Linked DNA regions of Homo sapiens: regions 1, 2 and 4 are each linked to region 3. Evidence: promoter capture Hi-C in 16 types of primary human blood cells and fetal thymus (Javierre and others, 2016). All regions are on one chromosome and are shown on one strand. The core of a region is centred on a gene start or on the middle of the fragment in contact, and the rest is flanking DNA. Distances in the headings are between cores, read along the strand shown.

What was found. The method cuts DNA at HindIII sites, captures the fragments that hold promoters and counts their contacts. A CHiCAGO score of 5 or more calls a contact.
Region 1: a fragment that was not itself captured here is called in contact with the fragment with the promoter of POLR1E in region 3 in 1 of 17 cell types (erythroblasts); the score reaches 5.6 in erythroblasts.
Region 2: a fragment that was not itself captured here is called in contact with the fragment with the promoter of POLR1E in region 3 in 1 of 17 cell types (naive CD8 T cells); the score reaches 5.1 in naive CD8 T cells.
Region 4: a contact is called between a fragment that was not itself captured here and the fragment with the promoter of POLR1E in region 3, in 2 of 17 cell types (fetal thymus and activated CD4 T cells). The highest score is 8.8, in fetal thymus.

The regions. Positions count from the first base shown.
Region 1 is chr9:37,781,570-37,784,269 of GRCh38, forward strand. It overlaps EXOSC3 (exosome component 3), which reads right to left. Exons shown (of 4, transcript NM_016042.4): 2 at 2,345-2,494; 3 at 417-568. Among named protein-coding and RNA genes, the nearest start is that of EXOSC3, 2.1 kb to the right of the region's middle. The HindIII fragment of the contact is 4,430 bases long and covers 1-2,700 here.
Region 2 is chr9:37,023,327-37,026,026 of GRCh38, forward strand. The region is part of intron 1 of PAX5 (paired box 5); the gene reads right to left. Among named protein-coding and RNA genes, the nearest start is that of PAX5, 9.6 kb to the right of the region's middle. RefSeq lists an enhancer at 1,462-1,731. The HindIII fragment of the contact is 1,264 bases long and covers 680-1,943 here.
Region 3 is chr9:37,484,608-37,487,307 of GRCh38, forward strand. POLR1E (RNA polymerase I subunit E) reads left to right here and starts at 1,341. Exons shown (of 12, transcript NM_022490.4): 1 at 1,341-1,516; 2 at 2,096-2,199. The coding sequence starts at 1,441. RefSeq lists an enhancer at 806-1,397 and a silencer at 1,139-1,468. The HindIII fragment of the contact is 1,288 bases long and covers 1,141-2,428 here.
Region 4 is chr9:37,077,928-37,080,627 of GRCh38, forward strand. It overlaps the pseudogene EBLN3P. Among named protein-coding and RNA genes, the nearest start is that of ZCCHC7, 41 kb to the right of the region's middle. RefSeq lists an enhancer at 1,674-2,153. The HindIII fragment of the contact is 456 bases long and covers 1,057-1,512 here.

The sequences.
Region 1 (2,700 bases), core at 135-2,634, 300 kb after region 3:
CATCACAATCTAAGCTGCGTGTGACCCCCATAATTAGAAAAAATTGATAATTTTATACAACTGCAGACTGCATCTGTATTCAAGTGACTCAGAACAGGGGAAAGGCCAGTTTTCACATTTGGGCTAAGTCAAATAAGCAACAGGCCTGGGAAGGAAGATATGAATACAGAGTAAGAGCTTAAGGCATGAAGTATCAGCCCACCAGAAACTACACAGCCAAACACATCTGAATTTGATATGTTTCCAAGAAGATAGGATTAAATTCATGAGTTTCCAAATGTGTTAAAATGGATACTGATTTCTAACTCTGAGGAGAAATTCAAACGTTACAAAGAATCTGAATCCTGAAGATTAACCAACTTTCCAAGAATGTATAATTATAAAAAGCAGTCAAGCCAGCAGACATCAGGACTTACTTTCTAATTAAGCCCAGAGTCACTTTAAAAAGCAGACCATCCTGTCCAATGACACCCATTCCATTGGCTCGTCCACAGCTGTCAATACAGACCATCTCTGGTTCCATGTCTTTATTAGCAACCACAAACTGGCCATAGATGAGATCTCCAACCTACAATGATATTAAAAACCAGTTCATTTCCTCTCAGCAAACTACAGGTGCTACTATTGGTTCTTTCTCACAGGCATCAATGCCAGCCACCTACAGTTCTGTGGCTAAGGGACTGACTGCACTATAGGATTCCCACAGTCACTTTGGAGTTGAGTCTTGGGGAAAAAAAGGAACACATGTATCATTCCCTTTCACCAATCAGGAAATCACAGACGAGGAGCCATCTCAAGGCCAGAGAACACTAGGATTGCACTGTCCAATATGGTAGATAGCCAATTGTTTAAACTTACATTTAAATTAAAATTAGGTATTTAAAATTAATTTCCTGAGTTGCATTAGCCACATTTCAAGTGCTCAACAGCTAGTGGCTACCATACTAATCAGTGCAGATACAAAACAGCATCACTGTAGAAAGTTATATTAGGTCGCACTACCCTAGAGAATTACAGATTTACAGAGAAAGGAAGGAACTCCGGCATGCAAATTATTCAAAGCAAAATCAAACAATAATTCACTGACACTTCTCCCTGCAGGATTTACTTAAAAACCTCATAGAGCTAAACTTCAAAGGGACGAAACTGAGGAAATGGAGAGTGAACTCATTCTGTTCACTCAACAAAACGTATTAAGTACCTACTGTTTGTTGGTGACTATGTAAACTAGAAAGGAACAAAACATTCTCTGCTTTTCAGAAGCATTTGGTCTTGGAGGGCAGTGGGGAGGTACATATAAACAAACCTCAGTCAAGGCTCAATCCAGTAAGTGCTAGAGCAAAGATACGAGAAAAGTGGCAACTAGAGATGGCTTTACAGAGGTGGTCATGTTTAGCCTACGTCTCAAAGAATGAGAATGTGTTCCATAGGGTGCGAAGGGATAGTGCAATCAAGACAGTGGGAACAGCATGTGCAAATAAGGGCAGGAAATTGAGTTTAATGGCGTTTGGTGTGATTTGAGTATGGCTGTATGAAGGATATAATTAGGGATGAGGAAAGACACCTGGAGTGTAATGCCAAGGAATTCTGTAGATTTTGGAGAATCTTGTCTTTTCGAGAAAGTGACCGTGTGAGGATGTCAGCTCTCAAAATCCTGGATGGTGAGGTAAAAGCGTGGAGGCAGGGATTAATGAAGAAGTGACTGAGACCAGTCAAGAGGGAGCTGAAGCCTGAACTTGTGGAGATAAAGGGACGGACATGCCAAAGATCAGAGACAGAATCAAATAGGATCAAAATAGGATTAAGCAACTAAATTTGCATGAGAAGTGAATGAGAAGAGGTGAAGAAATCACTAAATTTCAGGCTGGATAGACAAGAAGAGTGTGGCTATGCTACCTGAAAAGCTCAAATTGAAAACCCAAGGTAACAATATTACTCCTCTATCAGCTCCTAGGACCTACAGCCAGGATGGATGGATAGCTGATAATGTCAATTTGCACCACCTGTCCCTCCTCTAAGCCTACAGCAGACATCCTTGTCCAGAGGATATGGACATAACAAATAATGGCGATGATAGATACAACCTTTCAACTCAGTAGAAATGAAACATCCCAAGAACAAATGTAGCCAATGTAAAATAAATTGTAAATGTAAAAAATAATAATAATAATTATGTGGCTCTGATCCTGGAGCATCTGAAGAAACTCTTGGAGCCTGGGGCAATTATATACAAGCTCAGAGATCTAGGTCATGCTTTGGAGACAATTCAGATAGCCTTCTGGATATGTGAGTGTTCTAGGGAATGGATGTTTGTTTCTTTGAAACCAAAGGCTCCCGTAATTACCTGCACATTTGGTCTGTTTCTTTTAGTTGCACCTTCAAATGACAAGTAAGACAAAGAAGCTGGCTCACTCCCTCCAACATCAACTTTGAATATATCTCCAGATTTAGCTGTCACTATGCCAATCACATGGTCTCCTTTTACTGGAACATACTACAAAAAGAAACAGAATGAAAAAACAGCCATAAATGACAAGATACCATTGGAAGATACCTTCAGCAAGTCCTTTGTGGTTACTTTATTGTCATTAAAGAGAAATCTGATCAAATGCCACTTTCGGTAAAAGAAAATCACTTCATAAAGTGCCGGGTGTGCAGCTTCTGGTAGTCTGTTAATTGAGTCCAAACTCCATTATCTCT
Region 2 (2,700 bases), core at 62-2,561, 460 kb before region 3:
TGTTTTCTGGGGTGCCAGCTCTGGCCCTGCATCTTCTTGGAGAACCCAAGTCCCAGCCTGTACTTCCTATGGACTCCAGTTAGGTGAGGACTCATCCCGTGAAAGGGGGACTGACACAGAGACAGAGGCAAACAAATCAGGTGAAGACCAGGAAACAGACCCACAGATACAAGAAAAAGACAGACCACAGGACAGGGCAGACTGGGCAGTGTTTGGAGGGGAGTGAGGAGAGAAAGACTGAATTGCAGAGGCCCCTGAGGCCTTTGTGACTCTGGTATGGAAAGGGCTGGCCTCCACAGATGCTCCTCAGGCCCTGATAAGGTCATGCTACCCACCACAGGCCCTCCCAATACCCCCAAAGACCATGGCTGAGCATAGGATTTTGGGGAAAGGGACTTTGCTGACTCAGCCACAGATTGAGCTCCAGGACCCCCACAAGATCATTAAAATTTTTCCTAGATGCACCAGAAAGAATGAAGGGGTACACAGACAGGCAAACAGGGGCACAGGGAAAGGGCAGGGAAGAAGTCTCCCTAATGGTATTGATACATGTGGAGAGTCAGGCAGTAGACATATACATGGTTAGACTAGACAGAGAGAGAGCTTTGCATATGTGTATACCCACTGCCCTCTCTCTGGAATCTGAGTCCCTCCCTCTCCCCTTCTGTGAACCCTCTGAAGCTTCATTTTAATGCCTTTGTCAGATGGTCAGGGAGACCCAAGAACCAGCTCCAGCTGTGCCAATGTGAACTTCTTGAGTCAGTCCTTTTGTCTCTCTGACCTCAATATCATATTCTGCAAAATGGGTGAAGCTGAAGGTTTAGGCCACCGTCAGGTAGGACCCTGGCTATGAGTGTTTTATAACTGGTAAAGATACCTAGGGGAACCGCTCAGGAAGAGAGCAGGAGGTTATCGTGCTGATGAAAATGATGAGCCTGGAATAGTGGGTGGGGACTCCTCCAAACTCAGAAGCCCATTTCCTGGAAGTCCCTGCTCCTCTCCAAAGAAGCTATCCGGCTCTGAAGCAGTGGTGGGGGGAAGCAGTGGTAGGGGGACGGAGGCAGGGAGCGGTAACAGGAAGAAGAAACTGACTGGGCCAGGAGGAAGGTGACGAAGTGGGACTTGATCTGAGCCTCTACTACCTCAGCCACCTTCCAGGATCTACTGTACCCCCCACTCCCCATTGCTAGCAAGTTGGGGCCCCAGAGCAGGCCTACATTGTGCAAGAAAACAGCTTTGGGCCTCAGAACCGAGAGTGCTTCCAGAGAAGCCAAGGTCTTGCACCTGCTCTGGAAGCTAGACTGGCTGGGGCCCAGCCCCCACTGTGCTGCCAGGGAGATTGAAAATGGGAGGGAGCACTTCCCACGGAGGGGGCGATTGAAGGCCGGACAAGGAGGCACAGACATTAGCGGTTGGCTAACCTGCACCTGAAAGAAGCCGCCTTCTCCACACTGATGCTCAGCCGAGAGACCACCAGGTCTGATGCTATCTCCCCAAGGGCTAGGGCACAACCTCTGGGCCACCGAGCGCTGGGCGGAAGGACACAGTGAGGGCCTGTGGATTTCCACCAGTGAGGAGAGAAGTGCAGGGGCTGGTGCTCCCCATCTGTCCCCACAGTTGCTCCTTGGCTGAGCCAAGGGCTTGCTCACCTCTCAGAGCATTGCCCTAACTGGTTTGTTTTGGGCTTACATTGCAAGATCAGGTCCTCCCCAGAGCCAGGCTGGAGTCCGAGGCAGAAAAGGCTGTGGAGGGCACTGGGGTCACCACAGACTGGAAACCGGTTGGGCGCAGGCCCCAAACCTTGAGGAATCGTTTGGGCTGGGACCAGAACAGGGGGCTCCTCTGCACAGAGCTCCCCACCGCTTTGGTGGATTACTTCAGACTCAGAAAATTGACACAAAGAGAAACTGACCTGCCCGCAGCCAGCCCTGGCTGCCTACACAAGCTTTCCCCTGCTTGCCAGGCCACTCAGCACTGCGTGGCAGACACGGACATGCTCGCCCCGGGAAGCTCACCTTCACTCCAGCCGGGTCTCTGCTGCCTTTGTTAAATAGGGGACCTGCGGCTAGGAAAGCTGGATCCCAGGCTGTTGGGATGGGGGGGAGCGGGGTGGGAGGACCAGGCATGGGGACGGCTCCTAGCCCGGGAGCAACTCCCTGACCTGAAGCCCGCAGAGACCCCGAGCGGCACCCGAGCCGAGGCTGCCGAAGCCTGTCACCTTCCTCCAGCCTGGCTCTGCAGCAAACAGAAAGGAAACGCGATTCGTTCCACTTGGAATTTCCTTGAAATCTCCGAATCTAATCCGGCGTTAACTCACCGTGAGAGGAGCGCTCATCTCACAGGAGGCTGTGGTAATGGGTGAATTGGCAGGATCCCTGCGGGCCAGGCAGCCAGGCCGGCCTTGCCCTCGCCCTAAATGACCCTTCCCGTCTCCTACACACGCTGCGTCTTTCAGAGGCGGGGGTGCCTGCGTGGTAACTAATTGGCTTCCTCTTTCTTTCTTTCTTTTTCGTTTCTTATCCTCTTTTTTTAAAGGGGAGAAGCCATGAGAAAAGGCGTCCTGCAGAGAAGGACCCAATGGGGTCTTTAAGGGTCTCTGTATGAACTGGCCGGCTCCTAAGCAGAAGCTGAACTCAGAAACCGCTACTTCCTTGATTTTTCAAAGCCCCCTCCTCAACTCCAGGACGCCTTTGGAGCCCT
Region 3 (2,700 bases), core at 91-2,590:
AATTTCCTGATTCTTTTCTGTTTAATTTTTTTTTTTTTTTTTGTCGCCCAGGCTAGAGTGCAGTGGCACCATCACAGCTCACTGCAGCCTCTGCCTCCTAGGCTCAAGCAATCCTCCCACCTCAGCCTCCCGAGTAGCTGGGACGACACGCGTGCGCCACCACACATGGCTAATATTATTTTTTGTAGAGACAGGGTCTTGTTATGTTGCCCAGCCTGGTCTCAAACTCCTGGAATCAAGGGATAGAACTGCCTCTCCCTCCCAAAGTGCTGGGATTGCAGGCGTGAACCACTGCGCCCGGCAATTTGCTGATTCTGATGGCTGTGTTGTTATTTAGGGAATGTCTGTAGGAAATACTATAGTCTTCAGGGTTGAAAGGGTATCAGGTTGACAACTTACTCTAAATGGTTCAGGGCAAAAACATTTCTTGCAGTGTTTCTTTACGTTTGAGATTGGGTAATTAGAAAAGCGTGACAAGTGCTCAGGCAAAGGGGCATGCAGGCTTTAGGGTTATTCCTAGGATCCTGGGTGTTGGAGGCGGGTGTTGAGGGTGTGTGGAAGGAAAAGAGTCTTGAAAGAAGGTGATTTGGAAGACAGAGGGGAGTCAACCGGAGTTCTTGCCCTTCAATAGTACGCATCTTTGGGCAAAGGGGGCCTCGGCCAGCGTCCATGCTTAAAGGCCCTGCTTTCGCCTTCTTTCTGCTCTGAAAACTCCCCGTGCAGAAGAAGGGTTGAATCCGCAGTGAAAAAGGGACATGTCCATCAGCTCGGACTCCCTCTTCTATTCCAGTCCAGAATCTCCTGCCCAAAGGCTCCGGGGTTGGCTGGGCTTCTGTTCCATCACCTCAGTGTTGATTGGGCCACAGGTGTGCACGCCACAGCCCATGGCGGGGAGCTGTTTGTCGGACTGTGGACAAAGTTTGTACCTAGAGCTGGATGTCCACGTGGGTGGGTGGGAAGCCCTAGAGAGGGGCGGCTATTCGCCAGCGGCCACATTTAGTTGGGGCTCAAGCAGTTCCTGTCAGAGAATTCTAAATTTGAACTTGGTCCTTCAGGTCTTGGGAAGATGAGTTTGTCACGGTAGGAGAGAGAGACGACACTCTCTTTAGAAGGTGCTGAGCCGGAAGAAGGCTCATAGCAAGCTTAGGCTGAAGCCTTTGGCGCCTCGGGCTCTGGACCTACAAAACCCAGAGTGCACGCGAGCGCTGAGCCAATCAGGTGCTGCGCCTCGGCCAGTCAAGCGGGTGTGTGGCACCTTGTGGGCGGAGACCACGCCTCTCTACGCGGGGGGCGGGGACACGCGGCTCGCGCGCTGTGGGCGGTGCCCGGCGGGGCCACGCCTTTTCCGGCCCGCAGCGCGGCCTGGGCTCCCGCGTGTTTAAAAGTGCGCTTGTGGCTGCTGCTGTCTTAACTCCTGTGCTTGGCGGACAGACAGGCGAGATGGCGGCGGAGGTGTTGCCGAGTGCGAGGTGGCAGTATTGTGGGGCGCCCGACGGGAGCCAGAGAGCTGTACTGGGTAAAGACTGCGGAGCTGGAGCAGTGCTCCTCTAACCCTCTCCCCTTCCGTCTCGGTACCTCAGCTGTCCTCTCGCCCTCCGTTGGGCTTCTCCCCAGCGGGGCCGGGACCCCTCTAGTCTCCACCACTCCCCTGGGCTCTGTCAGGGCTCCCCTGTCCGTCTTTCTGTCACTACCTCCCAGCCAGATTGGGACATCCCACTCACCCGCTCCCCAGAGCTGTGTCCAGGACCCTGCTGACCCCCTCACCCACCAGGTCTCCCGCCTCCCCCATTTCCCTCTCTTCACTGGGCAGGGGTTCCTTCTGTCACTTTAGGTATGTACCAGGCCTCTGCTGTCAGCCTCCTTCCGCGAGACATTCCCTCCTGTCACAGCCCCTCCCCAGGGTTCTCCCACCTCCCTACCTCCTCTTCTCAGCTGGCCCCGGATCTCCTCCAGTTCCCTTTGGGTCAGGACCCGAGCTTCCTTGCCATCCCCATTCTGACACTCCCTCCCAGTGACAGTCTAGTCCCACCGTACATTGTGTGGTACATTGTGTGGCCTTCTGCTCTCATCTCATTCTTGGGCTGCACTCTTACAGTCCAGTTCTCCAACGGGAAGCTACAGAGTCCAGGCAACATGCGCTTTACCTTGTATGAGAACAAAGATTCCACCAACCCCAGGAAGAGGAATCAACGGATCCTGGTAAGTGAAGCAGTTGCCAGCTGTCTCCACTCTGCAGGGCTCAGAAGGCCCCTGGGAGTGGGTGGATGTGGGAGGGAGTGAGGGGAGAAAAAGGGGAGTAGTAGCAAATGGAGCTTTGAAGAACTCTGATGCCCAGCAGCCTGGGATGTGGGGACAGGCTCCATCTTTCATTCATTTGTTCTTTCAACAAGCATTTATGGAACCTGCCCCTCTGCATCCCTGTGCTGCAAGCTTCTAGGAAAACAGCCAAATCAGGCCTAGCCCCACTCAGAGTTCATACTCTAGAGCAGGGTTTCTCAACCTCAGGACTATTGACTTTTTGGGCCAATAATTCTTTGCTGTGGGGGCAGCATCCCTAGTCTCTACTCATTAGATGCCAGTAGCACCAGAGTGGATTTCCCTGGATTGAGAACCTCTGCTCTAGAGAGATGAGAACTGGCTGTGAGGGACACTTTTACACAAAGCTCTGAGGCCACGTGGGGAAGAGTACAGGGCAGAGTG
Region 4 (2,700 bases), core at 35-2,534, 410 kb before region 3:
GAAAAATAGAGCAGTCTACGCTATATTAAAAGTATGCAACAATTTATTTTATTTTAATCTTTTTTACATTCCTGGTAACTCACAGAACAAAACAATTTATTTGTATTTGTATTTACTAATTTAAGAAATAGAGATGGGGTCTCACTATGTTGCCCAGGCTGGTCTTGAACTCCTGGACTCAAGTGATCCTCCCACCTCACCCTCCCAAAGTGCTGGGATTACAGCCATGAGCCACCGTGCCCAGTCCCCCATTTTTTTTTAATTAAAGTTATGGGGTCTCTTATCCAGGCTGGAGTGCAGTGGTGTAATCACAGCTCACAGTGACCTTGAACTTCCAGGCTCAAGCAATCCTCCCGCCCCAGCCTCCTGAGTAACTAGAGCTACAGGCGTGCCCCATCACACCTAGCTAATATTTAAAATTTGAATTATTTAAAAATTTTAATTTTTATTTAATTTTTATAAAAAGATTTTATAAAAAGGAGATTTATTCTTTATCTTATTTTTTGAGACAGGATCTCAGTCTGTCACCCAGGATGGAGCACGGTTGCATGATGCATCACCGTGCCTGGCTAATTTTTAAAATTTTTTAAGAGATAGCCTGTTGGTATATTACCGAGGCTGGTTTCGAATTCTTGGCCTTAAGAGATCCTTCCCCCTTAGGCTCCCAAAATGCTGAGATTACGAGTGTGAGCAACCCCACCAGCCCGGCCAGGCATTCAAAATTTATCAGACCCAGAGAGACCTGAGTATGAGATGTCAGTTAGCACCATCCCCATGTACACTAGCAATTGTTTAAAGGCACTTTGTTCTTTTCTGCCCTGTACAAGCATCACCCTTTATCTTCGTGTTCCCAGAATCCGTGATAGAAAGAACAAGTATAGCCAATGGATAGGTTGTTATTTTAATGTAAATTCTTGGAATACAATTTAGCAAGGGCCTCTTCTTTTTTTTTCCTTTAAAAATTCACTTGTAGCCGGGTGCAGTCGCCCACACCTGTAATCCCAGTACTTTGGGAGGCAGAGATGGAAGGATCAATTCCTTTGAGACAAGAGTTCAAGCTTCCTGGCCAACAAAACAAAGAACTCACTTGAAACTGCTGCTAAGATCATGTATTAAATTAAGGGTAACTTGAAGTGATGCTCCCAGTTTGCATTCTTGAGACTTGGCCCAAATAAATTCTCTATTTATATTAACTTTGCCTCCGTTTTTCCTTTAGGTTGACAGTTATTTCTAAAGTTGTACAGAAGGGTTTACCTTGAGTATTAAAATAAGGTGTGAGAAAGGCAACTGAAGCCAGAGGCTCCCATCACAGCCTTGTGGCCTTCGGAGGCTTCCAAAGGATCAGCATTAACTGCAATATTTAGGAGGAGTGCAGCTCTTCAAGATTCATAAAGTGTTAAATCTGTTGCCTGGAATTCCAGAAAGAGGGGGAGGAAGAGCACAGTGTGAACTGTGTTCAACTTCAACCTAAAGGTAAAAGCGATCAGCCTAAGATCAGGAGCGCAAGGGAGAAGCTTGAAGCCATGCGTTCTCACGGAGGCGTTTCCCGCTCCAGGGCTGCCCAGGCCCGCGGGCCAAGCAGCTAGCCGTGCGGGCCGTCGTCACGCCCGCGATCAGATCAGCTCCCCGCCACGTGGCACTGGGAAGGCGTCCACCAAGCTCCAGGGAGAAGGAGGCGGAGCCCGGCCTCAATCTCACCCGTGTCCTCATGGGAGTTGTAGTTTTCCTTGCGGGCGTAGAGGGCACGAACTCCCGGCTTTTGCCCGATAAATAGCATCTCTTTTGTACGAGTCATTCAAATAATAGACGCAATCTAGGTAACTTCAAGAGAAGATGGGAAGGGGAAGGGGCAAAGCATGGAAGGCAAATCTAAAGATTATGGGCGGGGCAGAGAAAGGTTCGCACTTAGTACGCATGCGCATACCAGGCGCGACAGGTGGGCGGACACAGAAGGCGACGCCTAGGGCTGTGTTGTCCCGGAAGTGCCTTCTCTCCTCCCGGGTCTGCGCGGACGCGGCCTCCTTACCTCATTTGTCCTCGCCCCTCCCCGTCCCTCTACGCGTTTTGGTCCCTGTTTGGTGCTTTCTGTTTGCAGCTACGGCAGTGAGTATGTATGTGACGGACCCCGAGTCACCCGCGGCCTGGGACCCCTGCCTACCCTCCGTCTCGCCAGCCGAGCTGTGGAACTAGCGCGTGCCCCCTCGCCGACCTCGGCGTCTCCGGTCCGCCCCTCACTTGTGGTGGGGCGCAGCTCCTGGTCCCTCAGCTGCGCGCCGCCCCACGCGGCCGGGCTGCGGGTCTAGGGGGTCCGCATCTCCCTGGCTTTCCAAGGGCTAAGGTCGTGATTCTAGGGCGGCTGGGCGTCCAGGGCCTCGGTGGGGGTGGCGTGTCTGCCCTTTTTATCTCCCCGCAAGGCCCCCAGTCTTCTAGGGAAGCCAGTCAGTGAAGCGCGGAGGTCCGGGCGCGCCGAGAGAGAGTCCAGTCTTTGAGGACCGAGTAGTCCTGGGCCACCTCCCGCCTCTGCTGTCAGAAGCAGCAGCTGCCGCCGTGGAATCCAAAATTTCGGGAGCTGTGACCCTTTCCTCATGTAAAACGAGTAGTCTTGGACGGTGAGCGGACAGTTGCCTTCAACTTTTGGGAAGAGCTGCCGGTTCGGTGGAAAAGCTGTGGCTGGGAATCAGGAGGCCTGGGTTCTAGCCG